2 separate regions of the Homo sapiens genome follow, and region 1 is linked to region 2. Evidence: promoter capture Hi-C in human tissues and cell types (Jung and others, 2019). All regions are on one chromosome and are shown on one strand. The core of a region is centred on a gene start or on the middle of the fragment in contact, and the rest is flanking DNA. Distances in the headings are between cores, read along the strand shown.

Region 1 (6,421 bases), core at 2,410-4,909, 57 kb after region 2:
CTTCTTCTGAATTATAGAGAAAGGATAGAGTGACTTCCCATCACCAGGCCCCCAGAAAGTGAACTTGATCCTTTCTATCTCCACTTTTGTTTGGTAGCTAGATGGCCTAGTCCCACTCCTTTGATGCAACTGCAGTTTAGCAAGCTTGAAAACCTTAAGCTTTCTTGTTTAAGCTTTCTACTTTGAAATGTTTAAGAATCTGGTATCTTGATTTTTTTGGAGTACTTTTTTCAGGAGAGTGATCAGGAAAACGAAAGGTAAAAAGGCCTGGTGGATTTGTGTTCCAGGCTGAGAAAAGCTATAGGTTCTTAAGTTTTGTGTTTTCTGTTGTTATCAATTCTAAAGTAGAAGGAGAAGATTTAATGAAAGAGCACAGAACTGAGAATCAGAAGACATGAATTTTAATTTCACCTGTGGCATATACTTGTCCTGGTGAATTCTGCCAAGTTCCTCAGTCCACCTGGATAAAGTATCTTTATCTGTCAGATGTGTTGCTTATCTTATGTGTTTATGGTGAGAAACACATAAAATAACATGAAACTACTTTAAGAAGTGTAAAGTATGTACAAATGTAAGGGATTAGCATAACTATCTCAGTCACTTTGCCCTCTTTGAAGAGGTCTTTATGTTCTCAGTTCCTGACAGCTGTATACATGAAGTTAAGAGATTTATGGTTTGGTTGGCTTGGAAGATTTGTCTCATTTCATGTCGTTTTCCTTTCTTTCTTCTCCTCTTTTAAACATTTAAATCAATAAAAGACACTAAACAGAGGGAAGAATTCACAGTGTATCTGAATGAGCAGAATCTAGACAGCAGAATCAATACAGCCAAGCTCATATTGACATTATTATAACGCCCTCTAGGTTTTTAATTGACAATTTTCTGCCTTCCCCTGTCCCACCACCCCCCTGGTTTTTAGATGTATTAAGTCACCAGCACAATCTCCCATTTTTCAGTGGAGCCGATGATTAGATAATTGTCTACATTTTCCAAAGTAGAACAAGTTTTTCTCCAACCCCACTCTTGTGGCTCTTCCATTGGATTACTGCACAAAGGTTACTGCACAACTGAGCACAGATACTTAAGAAGGAATTTTCCCATTTCAAAGAAAAGTACCTAGAATGAGGCCAAGGATACTTGGGGTCTTAAAATAGTTCTTGTCCAGGCATGGTGGCTCACATCTGTAATCCCAGCACTTTGGCAGGCCAAAGTGAGAGGATCACTTGAGCCCAGGAGTTTGAGACCAGCCTGGGCAAGATAGCAAGACCCTGTCTTTACAAAAAATTTTAAAAATTAGCCAGGTATGGTGGCAAGCACCTGTAGTCCCCGCTACTCAGGAGGCTGAGCAGGGGAGGATCACTTGAACCCAGGAGGTTGAGGCTTCAGTGAGCCATGATTACGCCACTGCACTCCAGCGTGGGCAACAGAGCAAGACACTGTTATTTAAAAAAAATTTTTTTTTAAGTTCTTGAGGAACCTGTGTTTGTTCATTCAGTAGATGTGTATTGAATCCCCACTATGTGCAAGGCATATTTGCCTTGAGGGTGTATCAGAAACAAAATGATTATGTTTGTCTTACAAACGGGGGAAAAAATAGGAGCATGAAAAATTTAAGCTTAAAAAATAATATGCCCCCTAAAAAAAGAGAACATGTTACACAAGTCTGAAGCAAGTGAATATGCTAATTAGAGAAATAGATTTGATTGTGTGCCAGGAATGGTTTCTTGGGGAGAAAAAAAATTTATCATCACTGATTAGTGAATGTGTAGACAGTGTTTAATTTCTTTACATTTGTACTGTAAAGGCAAGCTTCTTATCAATGCTATTGCAGAAGAGCCTTAAACATTGGTTTCAACCCATGAGATAGTCTGAGAAATTCCAACTTTCCAGAACATGTTTCCTTCATGTTCACTTCAGGATGTTGGATATAGATGGAAGTGGGTGGAGCTCTCTTTAGAGCTCCAAACAGAATCTTTTGCTTGGATGGTGGGGCCAGGTTGAGTGGGGAGCTGCCTGGACTCCAGGTTTCCTCTACCCTCTAACATAAACAAGATTCCTTTCACAAGACAAAACAGGCACGTACTCCTAGCTTGTGGAAGTCTTAGGTATCCAAGGAGATGGTGGTGGTTGTGGGTTTTTTTGGGGTTTTTTTTTGATACAGGGTCTCACTCTGTTGCCAGGCTGAAGTGCAGTAGTGCAATCATGGCTCATTGCAGTCTCCCAGCTCCTCGGCTCAAGTGATCCTCCTGCCCCAGCCTCCTGAGTAGCGGGAGCTACAGGTGCGTGCCACCACACAGGCTAATTTTTTTTTCTTTTTTGTAGAGACGAGGTCTTTCTATGTTTCCCAGGCTGATCTTGAACTCCTGGGCTCAAGCGATCCTCCTGCTTTGGCTTCCCAAAGTGCTGAGATTACAGGCATGAGCCACCGTTCCCAGCCCAAGGAGACATATTCTAAGAATTGAAGGCCGGGCGCGGTGGCTCATGCCTGTAATCCCAGCACTTTGGGAGGCCAAGGTGGGCGGATCAGGAGGTCAGGAGATGGAGACCATCCTGGCTAACACGGTGAAACCCTGTCTCTACTAAAAATACAAAAAAGTTAGCCAGGCGTGGTGGTGGGCACCTGTGGTCCCAGCTACTTGGGAGGCTGAGGCAGGAGAATGGTGTGGACCCGGGAGGCGAAGCTTGCAGTGAGCCAAGATCATGCTACTGCATTCCAGCCTGGGTGACAGAGTGAGATTCCATCCCAAAAAATATATATAAATAAATAATTAATTTAAAAAAAGAATTTAAATGTTTTTGGATTAGTGTGGAGAGAAAACCTAGTATAGCTATTGATCATTGACACACCCAAGGATTTAAATTTGGAACGTTCCCATGTTCAGCTTGAATTCTTTGCTTTTTTGGAACTAGTACATTTGTTCCAAATTTAATAGTTTAAAGGGCTTAAAAATTATTTCATGTTTATAAAAGAGATAGGAGAACATCTTTCTCTATTTTAATATGTATTTCCATGCATCTGAAACTAGGCTTTTTAAAGAAATATGTCAAAAGCAAAGTAAGTCTAAATTATAGAGAAAAAGAAGCTAGTTGGTCTTTAGGCTCGGTACTGTATCTGGGACTCTTCAGACCAGTAGTTGGTGTCTTGTCTAGCTTCAGGCAGCCATGATGATATGATGCCATCTGGCATTTGTATGAAGCTTGCTATTTTTTGAGGCCTTCTAACATGTGTTTTACCATTTGTGTGTTTCAGCTGCTCTGTGGGATGTTGCTTTAGATGAATAGAGAAGTTTCTAAGAAGTTAAGAGATTTGCTCAAGATCACAGTTCGCCAGAGAGCTAAGAACCCCCAGGTCCAATACATTTTATTTATTTATGTATTTACCTCGTGCTTTAGTGCCCCCAACTGTTCGCAGCTGAGTATTCATAGGTGCTGCTAACCTGCCTAGAGACATGCAAAGGGGAAGGATAAAACAGAAAAGAAAAAAGAGTGACAGCTTAAACAGTGCAAAAAGTGGGAAAGAGCAAGTTATAATAAATCAAGACAGAATTTTAGAGCTTTTGCATTTTGACTCATCATTTATTGTATTGTGATCTTGAGCAAGTAATTTGATATTCAACCCTCAACCTTATCTGTAAAATTGGAATAATATTGGTAAATTTATCACTGAGCTAAGTAAGGGTCAATTGAGGATGATGTATGTGGCATGTATTTTATGAACTCTGAAGCCCGTAAGTTGGCATCTATGAAACATTCTTCAGAATCACACTTCTTCCCTCTGCTAGACACACAAACACAGGATACTGCCAGAAACTGGGCAAGAGGCTGTTTGTGAATCTCAGAAGGCACCCGGTAAGAAAATGATGCTTTGTTTTAGAATACAACTTAACTTAGGCTACAGGCACTCTTTCTGTCTCTAGCTCATGTCACAATTCCTTTTCGGGATTGAGGCCTGAAAAACCAGTTACTCACCATTCTTCCTACAAGGATTTATTTACTCGTTAGGCTGGAGGGTCAGAGAGACTAACAGATACTTCTGTGGGGCAGAGGGGGTCTGGCCCAGCTTACTTCTAATTGAGGATGAACAGGTGAGGGAGGCAGGGGAGCTAAGTAACAGTTGTGTGATCTAGGACCAGCTTCTCAACTTCTAGTGTCAGTTTCCCCATCAGTAAATCAGGGATAAATAAAACACCTAACAGTGCTTTAAAACAAGATCAGAATATTATCTGAAACTTTTTCTTTTCTTTTCTTTTTTTTTTGAGACAGGATCTTGCTCTGCTGTTCCTGCTCAGGCTGGAGTGCAGTGGCGCAATCATGGCTCACTGCAGGCTTGACCACCCAGGCTCAAGCAGTCCTCCCGCCTCAGCCTCGTGAGTAGCTGGGACTACAGGTGTGGGCCACTACACCTGGCTAGTTTTTTATTTTTTATTTTCTATTGAGATGGGGGTCTCACTATGTTGCCCAGGCTGATCTCGAGCTCTTGGGTTCAAGTGATCCTCCCGCCTTGGCCTCCCAGAGTGCTAGGATTAGAGGCATGAGCTACCATGCCTGGCTGAACCTTTTTCCTTAAAGGGCCAGATATTTTAGGCTTTGTGGCTGTATGATTTTTGTTGTAACTCTTCAACTCTACTGTTTAGCATGAACAGACAATATAAACTAATTAGGGGCTGGACATGGTGGCTCACGCCTGTAATCCCAGCGTTTTGGGAGGCCGAGGTGGGCAGATCACTTAAGGTCAGGAGTTCAAGACCAACCTGGTCAACATGGTGAAACCCGTCTCTTCAAAAATACAAAAATTAGCTGGGTGTGATGGCGGGTGCCTATAATCCCAGCTGCTTGGGAGGCTGAGGTGGGAGAATCGCTTGAACCCGGGAGGTGGAGGTTGCAGTGAGCCGAGATCGTGCCATTGTACTCCAGCCTGGATGACAGACTGAGGCTCCGTCTAAAAGTAAATGAATAAATAAATAAATAATTAGGGTTGATGTCTTCCAGTGAAACTGTTTCTAAAAACAGGCTGTAGGCCAGATGTGGCCTATGAGCTGTAGTTTTTAGACCCTTGCTTTAGAATACTTCACTAAATACTTGATCCTTTTTCTTCATCATACAAAATACTGATAGTGTTTTATTGCTGTTATATATGCAGAGATGGTTTAAGTTTGAGCATTGAAAGGATGAGTAAGAATGTGTGTGAAGTAAGATGTTACATATCGTTTTCTATTCCACAGAAAAAAGTTTTCAAATGTTCTGTTCATGCCTTCCCGTCACTTTCATTGTTTATACCAGTTGCTGTGCCTTCATTTTTCTCTAGTTGTGCTACAACTATATTATGATCTGGCCCCTGTTTCAAAGATTATATTGTACTAGATACCAAATAGAAAAGTATTTTTGTTTTTGAAGGAAAAGTGGCTCTTCTGCCAGTTTGAAAATGTGTCCTTGTGTACAGATCTTTAAGGAGAGCAGTGTGCAGCCACTTCTAAGCCTAAGTCTTTTAGGAAGCATGGTTTTCCAGTAGGCACTTTGAAAAGCGGCTTCCTCTTAACACAGATATACCTTCAAACGTCAAACTTGGCATTAATCAGAGTTGGGGAAGTAGAGCTATGTTATTCATTCTTGTATTATAGTAGTGAAGACTATTCAGTAGCCTGCCAGTAAATATGACCAGCTGGTACCCAGCTATGTAAGGGTTTAGAATGTAAGTAATAAGGTTTCAGGCACTAAACGTAGTGCCTGAACTTAGTTTCCTGCATGACTATATAAAAACCTTAGATGAGTTTAAATAGAGACTATTGAACCTTCTCTTCTCTCTAGTCACTTTGCCTTCCCTTGTATTCATTCATTTATTGCATCTTCAAGTAGTGAAGTGTAGGACTTCCCCACCAAACCACCAGAGACCCCTTTGGAATGTGTTCAGTATACATCATTGCTGGAGTGGCTTAGTAGAGTGACTGGCCCAGGGCCACCAGCTAGTAGGCAGCAAGCGTCCAGTACACAGACGTAGGTCTTTTAATTTCCAGACCAGTGCTGTTTTTCTTCTTGTGAAATTGTCAATTTTAGATTGGTTTTATTTTGGAGAGTATAAGCCTTCTTAAGAAATGCTTTTTAGCTGTTGTGATCGATAATAGCATAAGTCCTAAGGTCCATCTGTGTAAACATAAAAACCAAATAGTCTGTTAGTAAATAAATCCTACCCCCCTTTCCCTCATCCATCCATTTATTTTTATTAATATTCTTCCTTTCTCTGTATCTCCCATCATCATTTAAAATATAACATCTTACAAACCTTAGCTCATTTAAATGAAGAAACCTAGAACTAACCTCAGTAAATACCTGAGCAGTACTGGTACATAAAATGCTTGTGATAGTGCTGCCACTAGGGCAAAATACAATAAAGCTAACATTATAATAAAGAGAGTCACACAAATTT
Region 2 (6,446 bases), core at 3,098-5,597:
GCCCTCCACCTCATCCTTGGGAACCATTTGCAGATCCATGTCTCTCCCTGCCTCTTCCTACCCCTACCCGATTTGTGGGGCTATATAATATGCAGAGCCCAGTGCTAAATGAAAATGCAGGACCCCTTGTTCAAAGTTACTAAAAATTTTAAGACGGTGTCAGCAGAACATTAAGTGTGGGGTCCTTCTAGGCGCAGGGCCCTGCGTGACCACTGACTCTTGAAACCAGCCCTGCTCCCACCCCCAGCCAGCCCTGGGCCCGGCCCAGAGTTGATGTCAGCCCCCACACAACAGAGTAAAAATGCCAACTGACATCCAGATAGGGTTTATGGTTTCCATGTGGAATTTCACTTTATCGTTTTCCTAGAGATATCATCAACTCCATTTTATAGTTGAGGACACAGAAGTTCAGAGACGGGTATGCCTTCCCAGAGATTACCCAGCTCAGGAACTGCAGAGCTGGGATGTGGGCACAGAGCAGCCTGGTGCAAAACCCTGCCTCTTGCCCTCTGGCTCCCCAGGGAGGTTGGGAGAACCTGGCCCCAAGGGCTGAGCTTTGTCAACAAGGCCACGATACAGCTTAGACCAGAGAGAAGGAGCTGGAGGGACTGGGACTGGCTGTCCTCCCTCCTGGGGCCAGCCACATAAACAACCGGTTCCCTGGGACCGAGGCTGCTGCACAGGGAAAAGGGTAGGAGAGGGCAAAAAGTCACTCCCAAGAAGGCTCTGCCTGAGGGCCATAGACCCTAACATTCTGGGGAAATCTGATCTTGCCTTTTCTGCTTAAAACCCTTTAGGGGTTGCCATTGGCCTGAGGATAAATTCCCAAGTCTTTAGTATCCTGCTAGACTAGGAAATCGGGCCAGGCTGTCCTGGGCCTGCCCACACTGCCCTCCCTCTACCACGCCAAGCCTGTTCTCACCATCAACAGGGCCTCAGACACACAGTTCCCCTTCCTCATCCCTTCTTCGCCTCTACAATTCCTTGGCACCCTTCATGACTCAGCTAAGATGTCGCCACCTCCAGGAACCTTTCCCAGATTACAGACTGCAGGAGAGCAACTTCAGTGATAGGTTCCAGAGCCCAAGTCCCTCCTTTCTACACACATGCCATGTGTAATTACCTGCTCTGGGTCATGTCCCCACTAGAATGTCACCTCCGTGAGGGCAGGGGCCGCCTGGCTCATAGAGTCTGATACATCAGAGGTACCTGGTGGACTGAATGCATCCTTCTGCCACAGAGGCAAGAGGGCCAGGCATTCTTTCTCCTTTTTTCTTCACTCCTCCCGGACCCTCCTTTTCTTGTCCAGGCTTCTTGAGCTCAAGCTATGAAAAGCCCAAACTTGCAAAGGGAAGAGAACCATCATACAGTATGCACCCTCCCCCTGCCAGCTCTAGACTAGGTACTATACATCTGGTTACTACAGTTAATTCCCTAACCACATTCCAGATGGGGTGGAGAAGTATGGGTATAAATTATTCCTATTTTCCAGAGGAGACTGAGACTTGGTAGTTGAGGCCACCTGCCTGAAGTGGTAACAGGTTGGAAGCGGAAGGCATTAGATTTGAATCCTGTCTGTCTGATGCCCAAGTGCCTGGTCTCTTCTCTGCCCCAAACCACACAACCCCTGTGACTCACCATTCCCAGCAAGCTCACCTCCAACCAGAGAGCACTTGTTTCTAACCTCCGCCTTCAGTTCACACACACCCCAGCTGGTAAAGCTCTTCTGTGAGGTCAGTGATATACCAGTGTAGGAGACAGCCCCACTGTCAGTGAGGACAGTGTAGAAGTCACTCCTCCCCTGGGTCAACAAAATGCCAGTGTGGGAGAAACACCCCCATCGTCAGCAAAATGCCAGTACAGGAGACGCACCCTGCACCCCAAGTCAGCAGATTGCTAACAGGAGAGACAGTGCCACAGTCAGCAAAAGGCCAATGTGAGAGACACTTCCCTCCTCTTCTGGGGCCCATGACATTGACTGGGGGGTACACACAGAGACCTCTCCAAGGTGGTGCCCCTGGAGTGGGAGGAGGCACTGAGGCAGCTGTTGCCTGGGGGAGAAGGTTGTGGCTGGGGAGTGGGGCAGGTGAGAGTTCTCACATGGCACTAATGAAATCAACCACCAGCCTGCTCCCCCCTCCCCAGGGACCCTCCAGGCTCCAGCTGATGCAATGCCCAGGCCAGATAATTGTTTTCTTCCCTCCTTAAAGGGCCAGCTGCTACTGCAGCTGCAGACATCACCCAGACCCCTGACAGACCCCACAGAGCTCAGCACCTGGGCAGGAAGTTGGGAAGCCCAGAGAGTAGCAGCTTTAGGCCTGGGTTCTGCGCAGTAAAATCCAATTAAAGTCCAGAGACCAGAAGCGTCGTTGAGCAAGGAGGGAGGGAGAGAGAATAGTTAAGACAGTGACACAGACCACATGCCCTGGGAGAAGGGACCGTGGTCCCTGCTGGGTCCTCAGCACCTGGCTCCTGCACGCCCGCCCAGCAAGTACTTGGCACAGGGGTTGCTCATGAGTTCAGCAGTTAGCTGCTGAGCCCTCCTGAGTGCCAGGCACTGTGCTGCGCAGCTCAAATCCACCATTTCACTCACTCCTTCCTGCTACCCACATAGCAGCTGGGTTTGTTTTACTGAAAGAGTCTCAGAGAGGGGAAGTGATTTCCTCAATATCACACAGCCAGAAAGTGGCAGAGCTTGGGTTTGAAGCCAAGTTTAACCAACTCTGGGCTTCATACCCTGCAAAGGGTCGGATAAGTGTAGAACCCCAGGGCTGGAAGTCCCTAAGCAAGGCAGTCAGGAACAGAAGGCAGGGAAGGGGTCTGTGGGCCCTAAACAAACAACAAAGGGCATGGTGCTTGGTTTAAGCACAGGGCACATGGGTCACCTCCCCAGCACATCCCTGCCAACCCACCCACCCCGCCTCCCAACCAAGAATGCCCCATTAGGCTACCCACATGCCCCCAGGGACAGTTGGCAGCTGCCTGATTACAGACTAATTGGTGGCTGGCAGCAACTATGGTGGGGTGGGGGAGATGGCTCATTAACCCCTTGTTGACCAGGCCCAATCCTCCTCCCATGACTTCAGGCCCCAAACCCAAGGAACCCAGACTTAAGAAGTCATCATGGATAGAGGACAGGACCAAAGGAGCAGCAGCCTTCTTCCCTACATCCTGATAACACCCCTGGGGCTAGGGTTGGACACATATTCACCCAGGTGTCCAAGCCCTGAAGGACCACATTGAAACAGGCCCCAAGTGGCAGTGCCAGCCAATGCCCCCTGTTCTCCAGCCTTGATATGCCATTGCCCACCCCATTCCAGGATCCTTCCTGAGCCTTCAGGACCAGGACACTGAAGAAACCCACTCCTCAGGGCTGAGTTGTCCAGAGGTGATGGGGACATGGAGTCCAGGTACCCAGGCGGCCAGTCAGGGAAGAGCTCCTCCCTATGAATGAGAGCATGCCCAAGTTGCCCATCAAGGGTCCTGCCAAGCCTCCCTGAACCCTGGGCTCTGCACCATGCTGCTGACCAACTGCATTCCCAGCTTCCCAAAGCCCCCTCTTCCCACCCCAGGGCTGGAGTAAGCAGCACTCCTTTTCTTTTATGGGGTGGAGGGGGTCCTCTGGACACCACAACGGTGTCACGTTGAGGAAAAAGTGGCTGCTTCTCAACCAGGGCACAGGCAGAAGGGAGAAAAGCAGGCTGCCTTCCAGCTCCCTTTCCAGGAGGGATTTTAAGCACTTTCCAAAAATGCCATGCCAGGCAATGCTGTTGAAGACCAGGGCCCCAGGAGCTCTGAGCATCAGCAAAGAACTCAAGACTCTGGGCCCCCTTCCCCATTTTCCAGGCTTCCCCAAACACCCCACGTCCCTCTCTCATCCCTTAGTCCCCTCCCCAGAGCCCTCTCACACCCTGTGTTCATCCCCCCACCCCCGCCCCTGCACACTCACATACCTACGTTGCGCTTCATGGCCAGAGCCCCCCTCCCCCCGTGGTCCTCCAGACCTCTGCAGCCCCCTCCCCACGTCCACTCCCAGGCGAGCAAGGCCTGCTGACTTACCCGGAGGTGGGGCCGGGGTCCAGACAGGGAGGGGGCCTCCACAGGCCGAGGCGGCTCCGCAAGGCGGGGCAGGTGCTGCCCCGGGACCCCGCCCCGCGAACCCGGCAGTAGGCGCGGCCCGGCCCCAGGCTGGCGCGGACTCCGAGTGGATAGGCACGCGGGGCGGGGAGGGGCGGCGAGGGAGGCTCACGGGGGCATCGCCCGCCACCACGGGGGCAGCTCCGCTCCGCCCGCCTGCGCTGCCGGCTCCGCAGCAGCCACCGTTTTCAGTCGCCGCCGGGTGCAAAGCCCAAGCTTGGGCCGGCGGGAGGCGAAGGGGAGGCGGGGCCTGCCGGGGGCGGGGCCGCGTGGATGGGCGGGGCCAGTGGGCCGGACCTTGGTGGTGGGCGGGGCCTAGGGGAATCCGGGGAGTTTGGCTTGCCGGGTTGTGGTTGGGGGACCTACATTAATGAGGCTTCCAAGAAGCGGGGTCTGGGGAAGCCTCATTCCTCTCCGTGTCCCTAGGACTCTCTTGCCTCCTGCCCGGCCTCCCCTCTCCACCACCTACCCTATCTGTTCTTTCTCATCCTTCCTTTTCTTTGGGGCACCTCCCAGGACCTCACAGGCACCACGGCGCCCCCTGCCCTGCCCTGCCCTGAAGCAGTTCCAGGAACGTCAGATGGTAAGAGAAGAAACGACTTACAAACGTCAAGTCCATTTTACAGATGGAAAATCTGAAGCTCAGATAGGAGAAAAGACTTGCCCAAGTGCCTGGTATGAAGAGAAAGACTTTATAATGTCCCTTTCAGACAGAAGGAAGTAGAGTGGCCGGCCCTGAAGCCCAAGTTAACCTGCTTCCCCTGCGCTCTCTACTTCTAGAGCAATGGTTTTAAACTTGGGGCGATTTTGCCCCCCAGGGAACATTCGACCATGTCTGGAGACATTTTTGGTTTTCCCAACGAGGAGGTTGCTACTGGCGTCTCATGAGAAGAGACCAGGGATGCTGCTACACGCCTTCAATGCACAGGACAGCCCCTGCGCCAGAGAATTGTCAGGCCCGAAATGTCAGCAGGTTTCTGAGGTTGAGAAACTCTGTTCTAGGGCCTGGCATCTGCCTATATAAACTTCCAAATAGACTCCTGGAGTCCTGGGTTCTTCTGCAGCCCGGGAGGATACTGTATGAAGTCTTTCCTAGGGTCGTGCCTGCCCCAACTTGTATATTTAACCTTGCTTAGGACTGGTCAGTTCCACTCTTGGGCTCCAGTGTTTTGAATTCCACCCACTGACAGAGAGGACAGAATAATTAATATTTGCTGGAGGCATGTAAAACCAGTAGTCTCCCTGCTGAGGGCATGAATTAAAATGTAAATGGGAGCTGGGTGCGGTGGCTCATGCCTGTACCAGTGTTTTGGGAGGCCAAGGTGGGTGGATTGCTTGAGGCTGGGAGTTCGAGATCAACCTGGCCAACATGGTGAAACCCCATCTCTACTAAAAATACAAAAATTAGCCAGGTGTGGTGGCACACAACTATAGTCCCAGCTACTCGGGAGGCTGAGGTACGAGAATCACTTGAACCCAGGAGGCGGAGGTTGCAGTGAGCCGAGGTCGCACCACTGCACTCCAGCCTGAGTGACAGGGGGAACTCTGTCTCAAAAAAAAGTAAATGGGGAGTGGGAAGGTGGGGAGAAAAAGGAAAATTATTGGGATTAAAGGATCCTCCTGGGGATTGCTAGGAGGCATAGTCATCCTACGCCTTCCCTTCTCACCTGGTCTGTGAGAAGCATAAACTGAGGCCCTACAATGTGAAAAGCCTCAAAGTGCGTTCCATAGCTGGTCAGAGGTGGAGCTGGGGCTCCTGATTATATTTACATATTAATTAAAGCTTTGTTATCAGCTATTCTACCTCAGGCCTAGGCCTGGACTAGGGCCTGGGTGGTAGAATGGGTTACTCTGGAGCAGCAAGGGGGACTAGATTAGGGGAGGTGGGATGGAGGCCAGGGCAGGACCTGGAACGAGGGTGGAGGTGAGGGGTGGGAGCACAGAGAGGAATCAGGCTTCCTGTGTGCTCCTCCCTGGCCCCTTTCACAGAGACAGGTAAACCAGGGGTTCCCTTTGCACATCTGATGAAAACTTAGCACTATCTCTCTGGAGATGTGCAATGTATATTTTGCATATAATTTCAGTATCTTCAAAGTTCTATATTGGTTACCAGAAGGACTGGATGGGAGGTGGGTGGAGAGGGGGTTGATTCTTAAGTGTATATAGAAGAATAAACATACAGGAATAAAAAGTCCAGGAAGAAAAGTAATGAAAAGGGATTTGTCTTACCCGATACTAAAACATACTATAAAGTCAATGTATTTAAAGCAGTATGGTATTGAAGCAGGACTAGACCGATCTGTGGAACA

What was found. The method cuts DNA at HindIII sites, captures the fragments that hold promoters and counts their contacts. A contact is called where the count stands out against the background at its distance.
Region 1: a contact is called between a fragment that was not itself captured here and the fragment with the promoter of RIMS3 in region 2, in 1 of the 25 tissues and cell types used here (pancreas).

Annotation. Positions count from the first base shown.
Region 1 is chr1:40,719,426-40,725,846 of GRCh38, forward strand. All of the region lies in intron 1 of NFYC (nuclear transcription factor Y subunit gamma), which reads left to right. Among named protein-coding and RNA genes, the nearest start is that of NFYC-AS1, 30 kb to the left of the region's middle. The HindIII fragment of the contact is 5,530 bases long and covers 895-6,421 here.
Region 2 is chr1:40,661,335-40,667,780 of GRCh38, forward strand. It overlaps RIMS3 (regulating synaptic membrane exocytosis 3), which reads right to left and starts at 4,348. Exons shown (of 8, transcript NM_014747.3): 1 at 4,060-4,348. LOC105378675 (a long non-coding RNA gene) reads left to right here. Exons shown (of 2, transcript XR_947238.3): 2 at 4,654-6,342. RefSeq lists an enhancer at 1,959-2,616 and a silencer at 4,064-4,493. The HindIII fragment of the contact is 12,473 bases long and covers 1-5,136 here.